Regions from separate parts of the Homo sapiens genome. Here region 2 is linked to region 1. The links are contacts of gene promoters, found by promoter capture Hi-C in human tissues and cell types (Jung and others, 2019). All regions are on one chromosome and are shown on one strand. The core of a region is centred on a gene start or on the middle of the fragment in contact, and the rest is flanking DNA. Distances in the headings are between cores, read along the strand shown. Region 1 holds the start of LIPH (lipase H). Region 2 overlaps MAP3K13 (mitogen-activated protein kinase kinase kinase 13).

The links. The method cuts DNA at HindIII sites, captures the fragments that hold promoters and counts their contacts. A contact is called where the count stands out against the background at its distance.
Region 2: a contact is called between a fragment that was not itself captured here and the fragment with the promoter of LIPH in region 1, in 1 of the 25 tissues and cell types used here (dorsolateral prefrontal cortex).

The regions. Positions count from the first base shown.
Region 1 is chr3:185,550,670-185,557,719 of GRCh38, reverse strand. LIPH (lipase H) reads left to right here and starts at 5,132. Exons shown (of 10, transcript NM_139248.3): 1 at 5,132-5,297. The coding sequence starts at 5,249. RefSeq lists enhancers at 2,216-2,891, 5,043-5,122. The HindIII fragment of the contact is 12,609 bases long and covers 491-7,050 here.
Region 2 is chr3:185,406,486-185,414,087 of GRCh38, reverse strand. All of the region lies in intron 1 of MAP3K13 (mitogen-activated protein kinase kinase kinase 13), which reads right to left. Among named protein-coding and RNA genes, the nearest start is that of MAP3K13, 47 kb to the right of the region's middle. The HindIII fragment of the contact is 6,044 bases long and covers 1,268-7,311 here.

The sequences.
Region 1 (7,050 bases), core at 3,883-6,382:
TTTATTTTGAAATAATTTTTGGGTCGGGCCTGGTGGCATACACCTGTAATCCCAGGACTTTGGGAGGCCGAGGAGAGTGGATCACCTGAGTCCAGGAGTTTGAGACCAGCCTGGCCAACATGGCAAAACGCTGTCTCTACTAAAAAATACAAAAATTAGCTCTGCGTGGTGGCACATGCCTGTAATCCCAGCTACTCAGGAGGCTGAGGGGCAGGAGGATAGCTAGAAACTGGGAGGCGGAGGTTGTGGTGAACCGAGGTTGCACCACTACACTCTAGCCTGGGCTACAGAGCAAGACTGTCACAAAAAAAAAAAAAAGAAAACTAAAAGAAAATAAAAATAATTATTGGTTCTCAGAAAGTTACAAAAATAGGTGCAGTGGCTTGTGCCTATGGTCCCAGCTACTCAGGAGGCTGAGGTGGAGGATCAGTTGAGCCCAAGAGTTGGAGGTTGTGGTGGGTGACAGGGTGAGACCTTGTCTCAAAAAAATAAAAAATCAATATAAAAATAAGCAAAACAAAAAAATTGACCCTGGTTGACAATCCACAGATCTCATTTAGAGTTTCACATGTAAATGTGTGTAGTTCTGTGCTATTTTATCACCTGTCCACCACCACATAGCCACTACCACAATTAAGATACACAATTATTTCATCACTAAAAGATGATTTTTTTTTTTTTAAGATGGAGTCTTGCTCTTGTCACCCAGGCTGGAGTGCAATGGCACAATATCGGCTCACTGCAACCTCTACCTCCTGGGTTCAAGCAATTCTTCTGCCTCAGCCTTCCGAGTAGTTGGGATTACAGGCACCTGCCACCACACCCAGCTAACTTTTGTATTTTTAGTAGAGTCGGGGTTTCACCATGTTGGCCAGGCTCGTCTCCAACTCCTGACAAAGGTGATCCACCTGCCTCGGCCTTCCAAAGTGCTGGGATTACAGGCATGAGCCTGGCCAACTAAAAGATTCTTCTACAGTCAAACCCATTCTCCTCTCCTCCCTGCCTCTCCTCTCCCCATTCTCGGGAATGTTTTATGTTTTCTTATATTTGATATTTCTCACTATTGCAAAAAAATAAGGGACAGATTCTCCCATCGATTTTTGTGCTGTTCTGAAAGCCTAAAATAGAAAGGAGCACGTTAAGAAGTTAGAGACCTTCTGTGCCCACCAGCAGGAAAATCGTTAATAGTAACACAAAGAGGCCAGGCACGGTGGCTCATGCCTGTAATCCCAGCACTTTGAGAGGCTAAGGCGGGAGGACTGCTTGAGTCCAGGGGTTTGAGACCAGCCTGGGCAACACTGTGAGACACCATCTCTACAAAAACATTAAAAAATTAGCAGGGCATGGTGACATGTGCCTGTGACCCCAGCTCCTCAGGAGGCTGAGGTGGGAGAATCCCTTAAGCCCAGGAGGTCAAGACCAGTGAGCTGTGATGGAGTCACTGCACTCAAGTCTGGATGACAGAGTGAGACCCTGTTTCAAAAACAACAACAACAACAAAAAGTAACACAAAGAATCCTCCCAACAGAAATGATTCCCTTTCCTATAATTGGATAGTTTCCAGGAAAATGTACATTAGCTCTGTGTAGATAAGCACTTGGCATGGTACTTAAAACTCACAGGACCTAACAAATATTTATCAGGCAAGTACACTGATTGAACAGGGAGCAAGGAATTCCCTAACAGGTTCCTAAAAGAGATGTGAAACAAGTCTCCATTTGTTCCAGAGGGCAGTTGTTTTCAAATTAGTAAAGCTTACAGCAATAAAAGCAAATTTTTCTCTAAACTAAACAAAAGCTGAGCGAAAAATAGACAGGCTAACAGGCCATCTATTTGGTTTTTCTTTTTTTTTTGTTGTCAAGACAGAGTCTCACTCTGTCGCCCAGGCTGGAGTGCAGTGGCGCGATCTTGGCTCACTGCAACCTCCACCTCCCAGATTCAAGCGATTCTCCTGCCTCAGCCTTCCAAGTAGCTGGGATTATAGGCGTTTGCCACCACGCCTGGCTCACTTTTGTATTTTTAGTAAAGATGAGGTTTCACCATGTTGGCCAGGCTGGTGTCGAACTCCTGACCTCAGGTGATCCGCCCGCCTTGGCCTCCCAAAGTGTTGGAATTACAGGCCTGGGCCATCACACCCGACCTATTTGGTTTCACTTATTCACAGTTCCTTAATTTATTTCTCCAAGCAGGAGACAAAACCAAAACCAAAAACAGGCTGAAGTGGTGACTGAAGTCTCTCACCTGAAGACCCAAGACTTAGGGTGCCCCCAGTCCTAAAAGTCCTGTCTAAGTCTCTCTTCTCAACATTGTGCAGCCTGCCTTCTGCTGGATAGGAAAGGTACAGATGTGTGGCCAGCTAGATAATAACAACAGTTATCAAGCTGCCAGAGCGCTCACCTTAGCGCAGTGCTAAGGACTTTAGCTGTAATATCTCATTTAGTCCGTATAACAACCCTGTGAAATGTGTGATTTTATTATCTTCATTTTACAGCTAAGAAAACAGACTTTAAGTACCTAAATGTTGGGTCAGGCACGGTGACTCATGCCTGTAATCTCAACACTTTGGGAGGCTGAGGTGGGAATATCACTTGAATCCAGAAGTTCTGAGACCAGCCTGGGCAATGTAGCAAGTATCCCACCTCTACAATCACAAAATTAGCCGTGCGTGGTGGCATACACCTGTAGTTCTAGGGAAGCTGAGGCAGGGGGATCACTTGAGCCTAGGAGTTCGAGGTTACAGTGAGCTTGCACCACTGCACTCCAGCCTGGGTGGTAGAGTGAGACTTTGTCTGAAAAAAAAAAAAAAAGAAAAGAAAAGAAAGCGGCGGGCCGGGCGCGGTGGCTGACGCCTGTAATCCCAGCACTTTGGGAGGCCGAGGCGGGCGGATCACGAGGTCAGGAGATGAGACCATCCTGGCTAACACGGTGAAACCTCGTCTCTACTAAAAATACAAAAAAATCAGCCGGGCGTGGTGGCGGGCGCCTGTAGCCCCAGCTACTCGGGAGGCTGAGGCGGGAGAATGGCGTGAACCCGGGAGGTGGAGCCTGCAGTGAGCCGAGATCGCGCCACTGCATTCCAGCGTGTGCGACAGTGAGACTCCGTCTCACAAAAAAAAAAAAAAAAAAAAAAAAAAAAAAGAACTTAAATGTTTTGCCTAAGTCTACACAACTAAGCTAGTGGAAGACAAGGGATTTGAACTCAGGTTAGTATAATAAGTCAGCCCTAGGCAGTCTTGGTATTCATTAGGTCTGATGTGTGACACAGAAATCTGCACACAGTACTTTTAAAAGCCCCCAGGTGATTCTGACTTACTGACTTCTTGGGAAGCATTGCTAGAATCTACTTCCTGCAAAGGAATCTCCTGCTACTCAAATGGGGTGGGAACATGAAGAGAACTAATAGATAAACTTATATGAGCGGTACTATTACTTCACAAACCCATACTTCAGGTAGACAATGCTAAATGACTAATTGCTTTTGCCTGATGCTTTGGATGAAATGTTTTCTTAAGTTGCGTCTTTATTATTTATTTATTTATTTATTTAGAGACGGGGTCTCACTCTGTCACCCAGGCTGGAGTGCAGTGGTATGATTTTGGCTCATGGCAACTTCCTGCTTCCTGGGCTCAGGTGATCCTCCCACTTCAGCCTCCTTAGTAGCTGGGACCACAGGTGCACTAAAGAATGTCTGTATTTTTTTTCAGAGATGGGTTTTTGCCATGTTGCCCAAGCTGGACTGGAACTCCTGGGCTCAAGCGATCCACCCCCTTCAGCCTCCCAAAGTGCTGAGATTACAGGCATGAGCCACCGCGCCCAGCATATTAATGTTTTTTATTATTTTTTATTTATTTATTTTTTTTGAGACGGAGTCTCGCTCGGTTGCACAGGCTGGAGTGCAGTGGAGCGATCTTGGCTCACTGCAAGCTCCGCCTCCCAGGTTCACGCCATTCTCCCGCTTCAGCCTCCCGAGTAGCTGGCAGGCGCCCGCCACCACGCCCGGCTAATTGTATTTTTAGTAGAGAGGGGGTTTCACCGTGTTAGCCAGGATGGTCTCGATCTCCTGACCTCGTGATCCGCCCGCCTCGGCCTCCCAAAGTGCTGGGATTACAGGTTTGAGCCACCGCGCCCGGCTTATTAATTGATTTTTAAGCTCATCAGACCACTAGAAGCCTGAGTTAGTGTTGCAAGCACTCTCGCCAGAAAGGGAATTAAATTACCTTGGAGCTATGAAGCACAAGTTTAGTTACCTCTATCCCTGAGATACATAGATTCTGGCATGGGGTTCTATTTGAAAGTTTTTCATTTATTTTTCCTTTTTATTTATGTATTTATTGTTTGAGACAGTCACTCTGTCGCCCAGGCTGAAGTGCAGTGATGTGACCTGGACTCATTGCAACCTCTGCCTCCCGGGTTCAAGCAATTCTTGTGCCTCAGCCTCCTGAGGTAGCTGGGATTACAGGTGCGTGTCACCACACCCGGCTAATTTTTGTAATTTTAGTAGAGACGGTTTCGCCATGTTGGCCAGGCTGGTCTCAAACTCCTGACCTCAAGCAGTCCACCCGCCTCAGCCTCCCAAAGTGTTGGGATTACAGGCGTGAGCCACCGTGCCGGCCTGTTTTTCTTTTTTAAAAAAGACCTATTAGAGCTGTAGAAATTCTCGGTAGGAAGAAATACAAATAAAGATATATAATACCAAAAAAAGTTTCTTTTAATCTGAAGCATACATATATTTTGGCAAATGTAGATGTATAATTGGACCTAATGAAATGTTCTTAAAATCTAAAGACTGCCCTATGATGAATGAGTGTATGAATTAACATAAAAACTGGTTTTGTATATACAGGCCAACAGATACAAACTGGATTTGTTATTTCATTCACAAGAACCAAGGGGAAAAGATCTCAAGTCACACTTGGTTTCAACACACCAAGCCAAACAACTAATAAACCGCCCACGAAGAATGAAACTATTCTGAACTCGTCATTCTGCAGATGCAGATTATAATATTAAGATATGCACAAAATTGTATAAAGTAGACAATGAGTGACCTTTTATTGAAAAGAGGAGGAGTCAAAGATCCTGAAAGGGTTGGGACTGCCTGCAGTCAGTCCCTAGGGAACTTCCTGTTGTCACCACACCTCTGAGTCGTCTGAGCTCACTGTGAGCAAAATCCCACAGTGGAAACTCTTAAGCCTCTGCGAAGTAAATCATTCTTGTGAATGTGACACACGATCTCTCCAGTTTCCATATGTTGAGATTCTACTTATTCATCAGTTTGTTGTGCTTGTCAAGATCAGGTAGGTTATTTACAAACTGGTTTTCTTAACTGCTTAAAAAATAGAATTAGTTGTGTTGTCATTTTGCATGTCATCATTCCACTTCCTTCGGTGAACTTAAGTCCATAGAGTCGTTTTTAAGGAAAAAGATATAGGAAGCCTGTATCATTTCCTTAACATTTCCTTAAAAAAAAAAAAAAAAGATACAGGTTAGATGAACTTTCTCATCCTGAAAAAAATTTCTCAATAATAAAAGAAGCTATTATGTCTTTGAATTAATTTCTTCTTATTTACAACAATCAAATATGCTGAAAAATCTAGAAGTCTTATTTTCTTTCTTAGCCTATTTATCTGTGCCTTTCTAGTTCTGTGAAATGAGATGATTTATTTTCTGGAAATATAAAAATCTATCTTATATTTAATATATCAAGGGTTGGTTTTTATATTTTCATGCATTGAGAGTTTATTTAAATTATTCTTAGAGAAAACATAATTTTATATAGATAAACTCCTTGGAATGGTTCCTGGCATTCTTATAACTTAAAAATTATTAATCATAATGAAGAAATCAAAATTAAAACCCTAATGTACCAGATAATGTAACAAAAATAAAGTGAAATGCTTAAAAAAATAAAATTCAACACTTTGCAACCTTTTTAGGTATTCAGTTTTGTTTCAGATAGCTGTGGTAATGAAGGTTGATATAATTTTTTTGAAGGGCAAAGGGTAAATATGTTATATATTAAGACTTGTAAAAATGTTCATATACTTTAAGCTAGTAAAACCATTGCTGGGAATTTATTCTAAATGCATAACTTTTAAAAGAAAAAAGCCTCCTATGCAGAGATAAGTCTAACTATATTACTTGCAATAACTTGAAACTAGATATAACCAAAATGTTTCTACATACAGGAATGGATAAAAGACAGTATATCAACTTAATTTTTTTAAAGTAGCCTTTCAACTGATTCTGATGATATGCAGAAATAAGCAAACATTTTTAAAGTAATGCAAAGTAGAAAAAGTAGAACTTAAATTTGTTGGTAAACTATAATTACAACTATGTTAAAATCATGTATGTATGCATATGTGAATGAAGTTTAGAAGGGAAATGGAAAAATAGTATTAGGATTTCTGGCCTATAAATTTTTCTTTATATATGGTTTTGAAGTTGATTTTCTAGTAAGTTAAAATCATACCAATGATGATATTTTTAACTGAGAACTCGATATTTTAAAGTATATGTTTATTATTTTTTTTGTTTGTTTTTGAGATGGAGTCTTGCTCTGTCATCCAGGCTGGAGTGCAGTGGCGTGATCTCGGCTCACTACAACCTCCCCCTCCCTGGTTCACGCGATTCTCCTGCCTCAGCCTCCCAAATAGCTGGGACTACAGGAGTGCGCCACTGCGCCTGGCTAATTTTGTATTTTTAGTAGAGATGAGGTTTCACCACGTTGGCCAGGATGGTCTCAATCCTGTGATCCACCCGCCTTGGCCTTCCAAAGTCTGGGATTACAGGTGTGAGCCACCGCGCCCGGCCTATTATCATTTTTAAATTAAAAAAATTAAGATAAATGGTCAGGCGCAGTGGCTCATGCCTATAATCCCAGCACTCTGAAAGGCCAAGGCGCGTGGATCACCTGAGGTCAGGAGTTCAAGACCAGCCTGGCCAACATGGTGAACCCCATCTCTACTGAAAATACAAAATTAGCCAGGCCTGGTGGCATGCACCTGTTATCCCAGCTACTCGGGAGGCTGAGACAGGAGAATCTCT
Region 2 (7,602 bases), core at 3,040-5,539, 140 kb after region 1:
CAGTTCCACTCCAGCACCAGAGCCTGAGCCCTTAACCACAACACTGTATTGTCGATATTATAATGGGCTTCTGTTTAACTAAAAAAGGTCTAGGTCAGAAAAATATGGAATAGGCTCATATTTTACCTTGAACTTAGGTTCCAAACTTGGATGAAAGGTATGAATTCTTAGCAATAACTAAAGATAATTGGAGAATTCTAAAATATGCTCACTTTCTGTAGGGTTTACTCCATTCTGGTTTTTGTTTGTTTTGTTTTTTGTTTTTTGAGGTGGAATCTCGCTCTGTCGCCCAGGCTGGAGTGCAGTGGCACAATCTCAGCTCACTGCAACATCTGCCTCCCGGGTTCAAATGATTCTCCTGCCTCAGCCTCCCGAGTAGCTGGGACTACAGGTGCGTGCTGCCACACCCAGCTAATTTTTGCATTTCTTGTAGAAGTAGGGTCTCACCATGTTGGCCAGGCTGGTCTTGAACTCCTGGCCTCAGTTGATCCACCCACCTCGGCCTCCCAAATTGCTGGGATTACAGGTGTGAACCACCGCGCCCAGCCCCATTCTGTTTTTAACATTAAAACTCTATACTTGCATCATCCAATATTATAGCTTCTAGTTATACGTAGTCATTTAACTTTAATTAAAATTAAATAAAATAAAGATTTCATTCCTCAGCTGTACTAGTCCATTTTAGGTATTCACTAGCCACATGTGGCTAGTGGCAACCATATAGGACTGGGAAAAAGAACATTTCCATCATTACAGGAAGTTCCATTGGACAGTGCTGCTCTATGCGCTTTATTCATATTAATAGATTGGTCTGTTGTAAGGATTAACCAACATTGTGGCTCCCTTCGTACATGGGGATTTGCTAACTGCACAGTACTCCACTACCTTCTTTAATATGACAGGTTTGCAACCATGTTTTAGTAATATTTGTGAATGATTTAAGTATAGCTCATTCTAATGATGGTTCATCAGGATCAAACTGAATTGGGGATTTTATCTTTTAAAAGACTGTCCAAGGAATCATAGCTGTGTGTCTAAAAGGAACCAGAGGAATAATTTTCAATATCTAAGTAGGTTCATTTGTGGAGAATCTAAAAAATGAAATTAGATTACTGCTACCATCATTCCTTGAAGCTCCTAATCATAGCACTAGTGTAGGTGAAAGGCAGAAACCTAGGGGAGGGCTAATGGAGGAAAAGGTGAATAGGAACAGAAGTTTTACCAAATCACCAGAAGTATGTGTCACTTCTCAGAGGAGACTGTATTACAGATAACCAGGACAAAAGCTCCAGGATGAACAAAGCACTCCTGACTCTGGATCCAATGTCGAATTTTAATAGAGCAGTAACTAAAGCCAAATTAGTGAGAGATCCTATTGTTTTAGACTTTTACATTTCTTGTGACTTACTGTTGTTTTTGCTCACAGAAGTAGTCCTGAGCTTTAATTTTTAAAGTAATGATTCAATCAAGATGATACTCTAGAAAATGTGTGATAGAACATTTTGAGCTTTACCAACAATAGAAATTTGAAATTGTCAAAGATTGGCCATTTTTCACTTGTCTTATGTCACTGTTTTGGAATGACTCTGTGCTAGAGTGTAATCCATACCCATTGTTTAATTATTCATTGAGGGTAGTTTCAATTTCTACTCCCAATATATAGCTGAAATTTGCAGACTGCTAAAGGATCCTAGATAAATCCCATCTGTCCAAAATGAGGATGACAAGGAAGAACATCAATAAATATTAATTATTGATTCTAAGTGCTAAAAAATGATAAATATATAAGACAGTTCTAATGGAAAGAAAAATAAATGTAAAATAATAAACTATTTGTGACAGAAAACAATATGTAGTCTCTCAATACAAATGATAAATATATAAGACAGTTCTAATGGAAAGAAAAATAAATGCAAAATAATAAACTATTTGTGACAGAAAACAATATGTAGTCCCTCAATACAAAGGTTAATATTACAAAGGTAGAATTTAAAGACATATTTAGGCTGGGCATGGTGGCTCACACCTGTAGTCCCAGCACTTTGGGAGGCCGAGGTGGGAGGATGACCTGAGGTCCAGAGTTCGAGACCAGCCTGGCCAACGTGGTGAAACCCCATATCTACTAAAAATACAAAAATTAGTTGGGCGTGTTGTACACACCTGTAGTCCCAGCTACTCGGGAGGCTGAGGCAGGAGAATCACTTGAACCTGGGAGGTGGAAGCTGCAGTGAGCTGAGATCATGCCACCGCATTCCAGCCTGGGCAACAGAATGAGATTCTGTCTCAAAAAAAAAAAAAAAAAAAAAGACATAACTGCCTCCCTTTAGGAATCATAATTTGAATTCATTACAAGTGCACATGGTTTCATTAAGTGCTCCTAAAAAGTTGCATATAAATCACATTTTTAAAATAACATTTAAAAATCACTAATAGAAATTACTATTTGAAGTATCACTGATAAATCTACTTGCAAAATGAAGAATCCTTCTGAAATGCTAATGATTGTTTTATTATTGTACTTGTTTGCTTAATTTGAATTTTCTGTTGTTTCAATGTCTGGTATTAGTTGTTTAATTAAATGTCAATTTCATAGCTCTCAATAAATTTCCCTGAGTAGGTGGTATGTCCAGCAAATCTACCTGAGAAGTCAGTATTTGTCATGGGCTTGGAAACCATGTGCCCAAACATGTTAGAACTGTGTGCAAAATAACAGTAATAAGATTTTGTACAAAGGCTTGATGACTCTTCATATGAGTAAACTGTGAGGTTTTGTACATGGGTTTTGTGACGTACATTCTGGCTATGTGCAAATGTTTTTCCCTTCATTTTCTGATTTTTTTTTCTGTGTTCTAAATAACTGATTGCAAATTCATGTGTATGCATGTCTAGCTGTTCTTGAATCATGGTATAATCTACAGTTAGGACATCTCATAAAGTAAGGACAAGAAAAGACAACTCTACTTGAAGAAGCCAGGAAAAACCAAGGGCCCTTTTACCTAACACTTTGCTTCCGATGATAGCTTTGAAGGGGGAGTCATTGTTTTTTGTGACATCTGTTTACAAAAGGAATGGGTATAACATAAACATCACTTACTTCTCTTAATATTCCATGAAAGAATCTTATTCATATGCTGAACCTTTTTTTTTTTTTTTTAGACAGAGTCTTGCTCTGTCACCCAGGCTGGAGTGCAGCGGTGTGATCTTAGTTCACTGCAACCTCTGCCTCCTGAGTTCAAGCGATTCTCCTGCCTCAGCCTCCTAAGTATCTGGGATTACAGGCGCCCGCCACAATGCCTGGCTAATTTTTGTATTTTCAGTAGAGACGGGGTTTCTCCATGTTGGCCAGGCTGGTTTTGAACTGCTGACCTCAGGTGATCCACCCACCTCGGCCTCCCAAAGTGTTGGGATTACAGGCATGAGCCACCACACCTGGCCTATTTTTTAATTTTTAAAAATTGACACATAATAATTGTACATTGTTATGGGATACATAGTGATGTTTCAATACATACAATACATAGTGAGCAGATTGGGGTAATTAGCATATACATCATCTTGAACATTTATCTTTTTTTGTGTTGGGAACATTAAAATATTCTCTTTTCTAGCTATTTGGGAATATATATTATTGTTAACGATAGTCATCCTACAGTGCTGTGGGACGCTATAGCTGTAGAATTTATTCCTCCTATCTAGCTATAATTTTGTATCCTTTAACAAATCCCTCCCTGTCTATCCTCCCCAGCCTCTAGAATCCTCTGTTCTGCTCTTTACTCCTATGAGTTTAACTTTCTTAGCTTCTGCGTATGAATGAGAACATGTGGTGTTTAACTTTCTGTTACTGGCTTGTTTCACTTAACATAATGTCCTCTAGGCCAGGGATCCCCAGCTCCCAGACCGCAGACTGGTACTGGTTTGTGGCTTGTTAAGAACCAGGCTGCACAGCAGGAGGTGAGCAGCAGGCGAGCGAGTATTACTGCCTGAGCTCTGCCTCCCATCAGGTCAGCAGCAGCGTTAGATTCTCACAGGAGGGCAAACCCTATTGTGAACTGCACATTCGAGGGATCTCATAAGGTTGTGCGCGCCTTATGAGACTCTAACTAATGCCTGATGATCTGAGGTGGGACAGTTTCATCCTCAAACCATTCCCACCCACCACCCACCACATCCCTAGTCTGTGGAAAAATTGTCTACTACGAAACTGGTCCATGGTGCCAAGAAGGTTGGGGACTGCTGCTCTAGGCTCATCCATGTTGCTGCAAATAACAGGATTTAATTCTTTTTTTATGGCTGAATAGTATTCAATTGTGTACATATACCACATTTTCTTTATCCATTCTTCTATTGTCGGACATGGGTTGATTCATACCTTGGCTATCATGAATAGTCCTGCAATAAACATAGGGGTGCAGATATCTCTTCAGTATACTGGTTCATTTTCCTTTGGGTAAATACTCAGTAGTGGGGTTGCTGGACCATATGGCAGTTCTATGTGTGTTTTTTTGAGGAACGCTCATACTGTTCTCCATAGTGCTGTACTAGTTTACATTCCTACCAACAGTGCATAACAGTTCCATTTTCTATGCATCCTTGCCAGCGTTTATGTTTTTATCTTTTTGATAATAGTCATTTTAATGGGTGAGATGATATCTCATTGTGGTTTTGATTTGTACTTCCCTGATAATCAGAGATATTAAGCTTATTTTAAATTAATTAATTAGAGACAGGGTCTCGCTCTGTAGCCCAGGCTGGAGTGCAGTGGTGTGACCTCAGTTCACTGTGACCTCCGCCTCCTGGGTTCAAACAATTCTTCTGCCTCAGACTCCCAAGTAGCTGGGACTACAGGCACACACCACCACGCCTGGCTAATTTTTGTATTTTTGGTAGAGACGGGGTTTCACCATATTGGCCAGGCTGCTCTTGAACTCCTGACCTCAAGTGATCTGCCTGCTTTGGCCTCCCAAAGTGCTGGGATGACAGGCATGAGCCACCAGGCCTGGCCTCCAGTCTGCAATTCTAAGGCAGGACACACGCTCCTTGAATCATCTCAGTTGCCCTTGTTTGATCTATGTCCAACTCTAGTCCACCTTTTTATATACATATATATTTATTTATTTATACATTTCATTGGTAGACGCCTTCTGATGATGCCCAATGTGGTAGTGAGTTGGCCAAAAACAGCACACAGAGCAAATTTCATGACTAACCTCCCATTAGTGCAAGGTTGCCCTAGGACTGTAATAAATCAGATCGTAATGAAGCCTGGTATATTATAAATAGTTGTTGTCCCATGTTTATTACATAATGCTTATGATGTGCTGTAATTGCAAAGAGTGCAGGTTTTCAAATCAGAAATACCTTGTTTGATTCCTAGCCACTTATCTGCTGTGAAGTCTTTGACAGTTATGTAAATATTCTGAATTCTAGTTGCCTCACTTGTATACAGGATATACTAAACCTCCCTTTTGGGGTTGTTGTAGATGCAAATCAAACTAATCGGCTTCTTTTTTTTTTTTAAGATGGAGTCTCACTCTGTTTTCCAGGCTGGAGTGCAGTGGCATGATTTCGGCTCACTGCAACCTATACCATCAGAGTTCAAGTGATTCTTCTGCCTCAGCCTCCTGAGTAGCTGGGATCACAGGCATGCGCCACCATGCCCGGCTAATTTTTGTACTTTTAGAGGAGATGGCATTTCACCATGTTGGCCAGGCTGGTCTCAAACTCCTGACCTCAAGAGATCCACCCGCCTCAGCCTCCCAAGGGGATTACAGGCTGGGATTACAGGTGTGAGCCACCGCACCTGGCCGAATTGGCATTTTATTGAGAGCTTACCATAAATAAGACCCTGAAAGCTTCAAATGGTTTCTCTCATGAAATAAGTTTGATTTCAACTGCAAAATTGGAAGATTTCACTCTATACTCCCACTTTCTGATTTTTTTCCTGTAAAACTATTAAACAAGATTTCTAGTTAAATGTGATAGGTTGAACATAAACATTTTATCTCTGCTCTGCCCATGCCAGACGCTACTAAGATAAAAGTAAGGCAGAAAAAAAAAGTGGCTCACACCTGTAATCCCAGTATTTTGGGAGGCCGAGGTGGGAGGATCACTTGAGCGCAGGAGTTCAAGGCTACAGTGAGCTATGACCATGCCCCCTCACTCCAGCCTTGGTGACAAAGCAAGACCCACACTCAAAAAAAAAAAAAAAAAAAAAAAAATTCTCAAAATTCTACAAGGAAATCTAAAATGAGCAAAGACAAAAGGCTACATATTGTATAATTCCATTTATATGAAATCCATTTACAGAAAAGACAACACTATAAGGACAGAAACCAAATAATAGGGGCCAGGTGTGGGAACTGATTAATAGGGGCAAGGTGTGGGGAAGAGGGAACACACTTGAGCTTTCTTCCCCCTTAATTCCACCGCTGAAATTGGCAAAACGCACTCTGAAGCTAAAGTCCCCACGCTGTCCTGAGCAATAGTAGAATCACCAGAAGGCATCAACAAGCTGCTGGACACTGATACTTTTCCTGATACTTTGTCAAAGACACTTAAGAAGTCTTTGACAAAATCCATTTAATTGCGCATGGTGTGGCAAACTTTGTTAAAATGCAGTCACTCTGCTTTATAGTTATAACGTTCTATTTTGTGTATATAGAGTTAATTTTGTATTTAGAATCCTTTAGCACCATTTGAGACAGAGGTACCCCTGAGTGTTTCCAAATGAAAATTAATAATCATAGGTCTAGACAGCAAAATGAGGTAAGAGTTTAGCACAGTCACGATTACATATCTTTAGAATCTGAAAGCCAACCTTAGAGATTCCCACTCCAGAAAGTGGAGGTGGGTTAAGGCTCAAGATCTAGGGTCTGGTGGTGGCAAAAAATGGTTTAAAAAAGAAACATTATTTATATCCAAGGTTCACAGACAAATAGATAATCAGCTCATGTACAATTTCCGTCATTTACTGAGGCAAATCAACTTAGAGTGTCCTTCCCATATAATCTTTAGAGTTTCTACTGTTCTTTTGTAATTTTCTTTTCTTTCTAGGCATGCTTTTAATATAAAATTTTAATCTTTATTTTACTGGATAAAAATGTTGTGAGAATATACCCCACATCTCTTCTGGAATGATCCAGCCCCACTCTATGATTTCTGGCTTTCATTTCAAGGCTTTTTTCCACAGATCCCCTTTTTACTTGCCTAGCATGAAAACAAGCCGGTTCATTAGTGAGAATAGTTATTGCAATAGGGCATCCATTCAATCTCAGAAGACGAAAATGAATTGAGCACCAAAATTTAAAATATGAAAATAAGTCATTATTAAATACCTATGGGAAAAATCACAAAATCCTTACATATAGTCTGTTAAATGACCTTCTTCACATAATAACTGAAATGACAATAGGGCTAGAATAGTACCAAAATCTTAGAAATTAAGCCATCTACAATACTTTGTACCATCTAGGCTTTGGGATTAGTGGCTTTTTCCCTTAGCCTACATATGTCTAATCCCATTTGACAAAATTAGAAGGCATGCTTGGCTGTGGTTACAGACAAGCTCAGAGAATAGTCTGATTATTTTTTAATCCCAGTAGA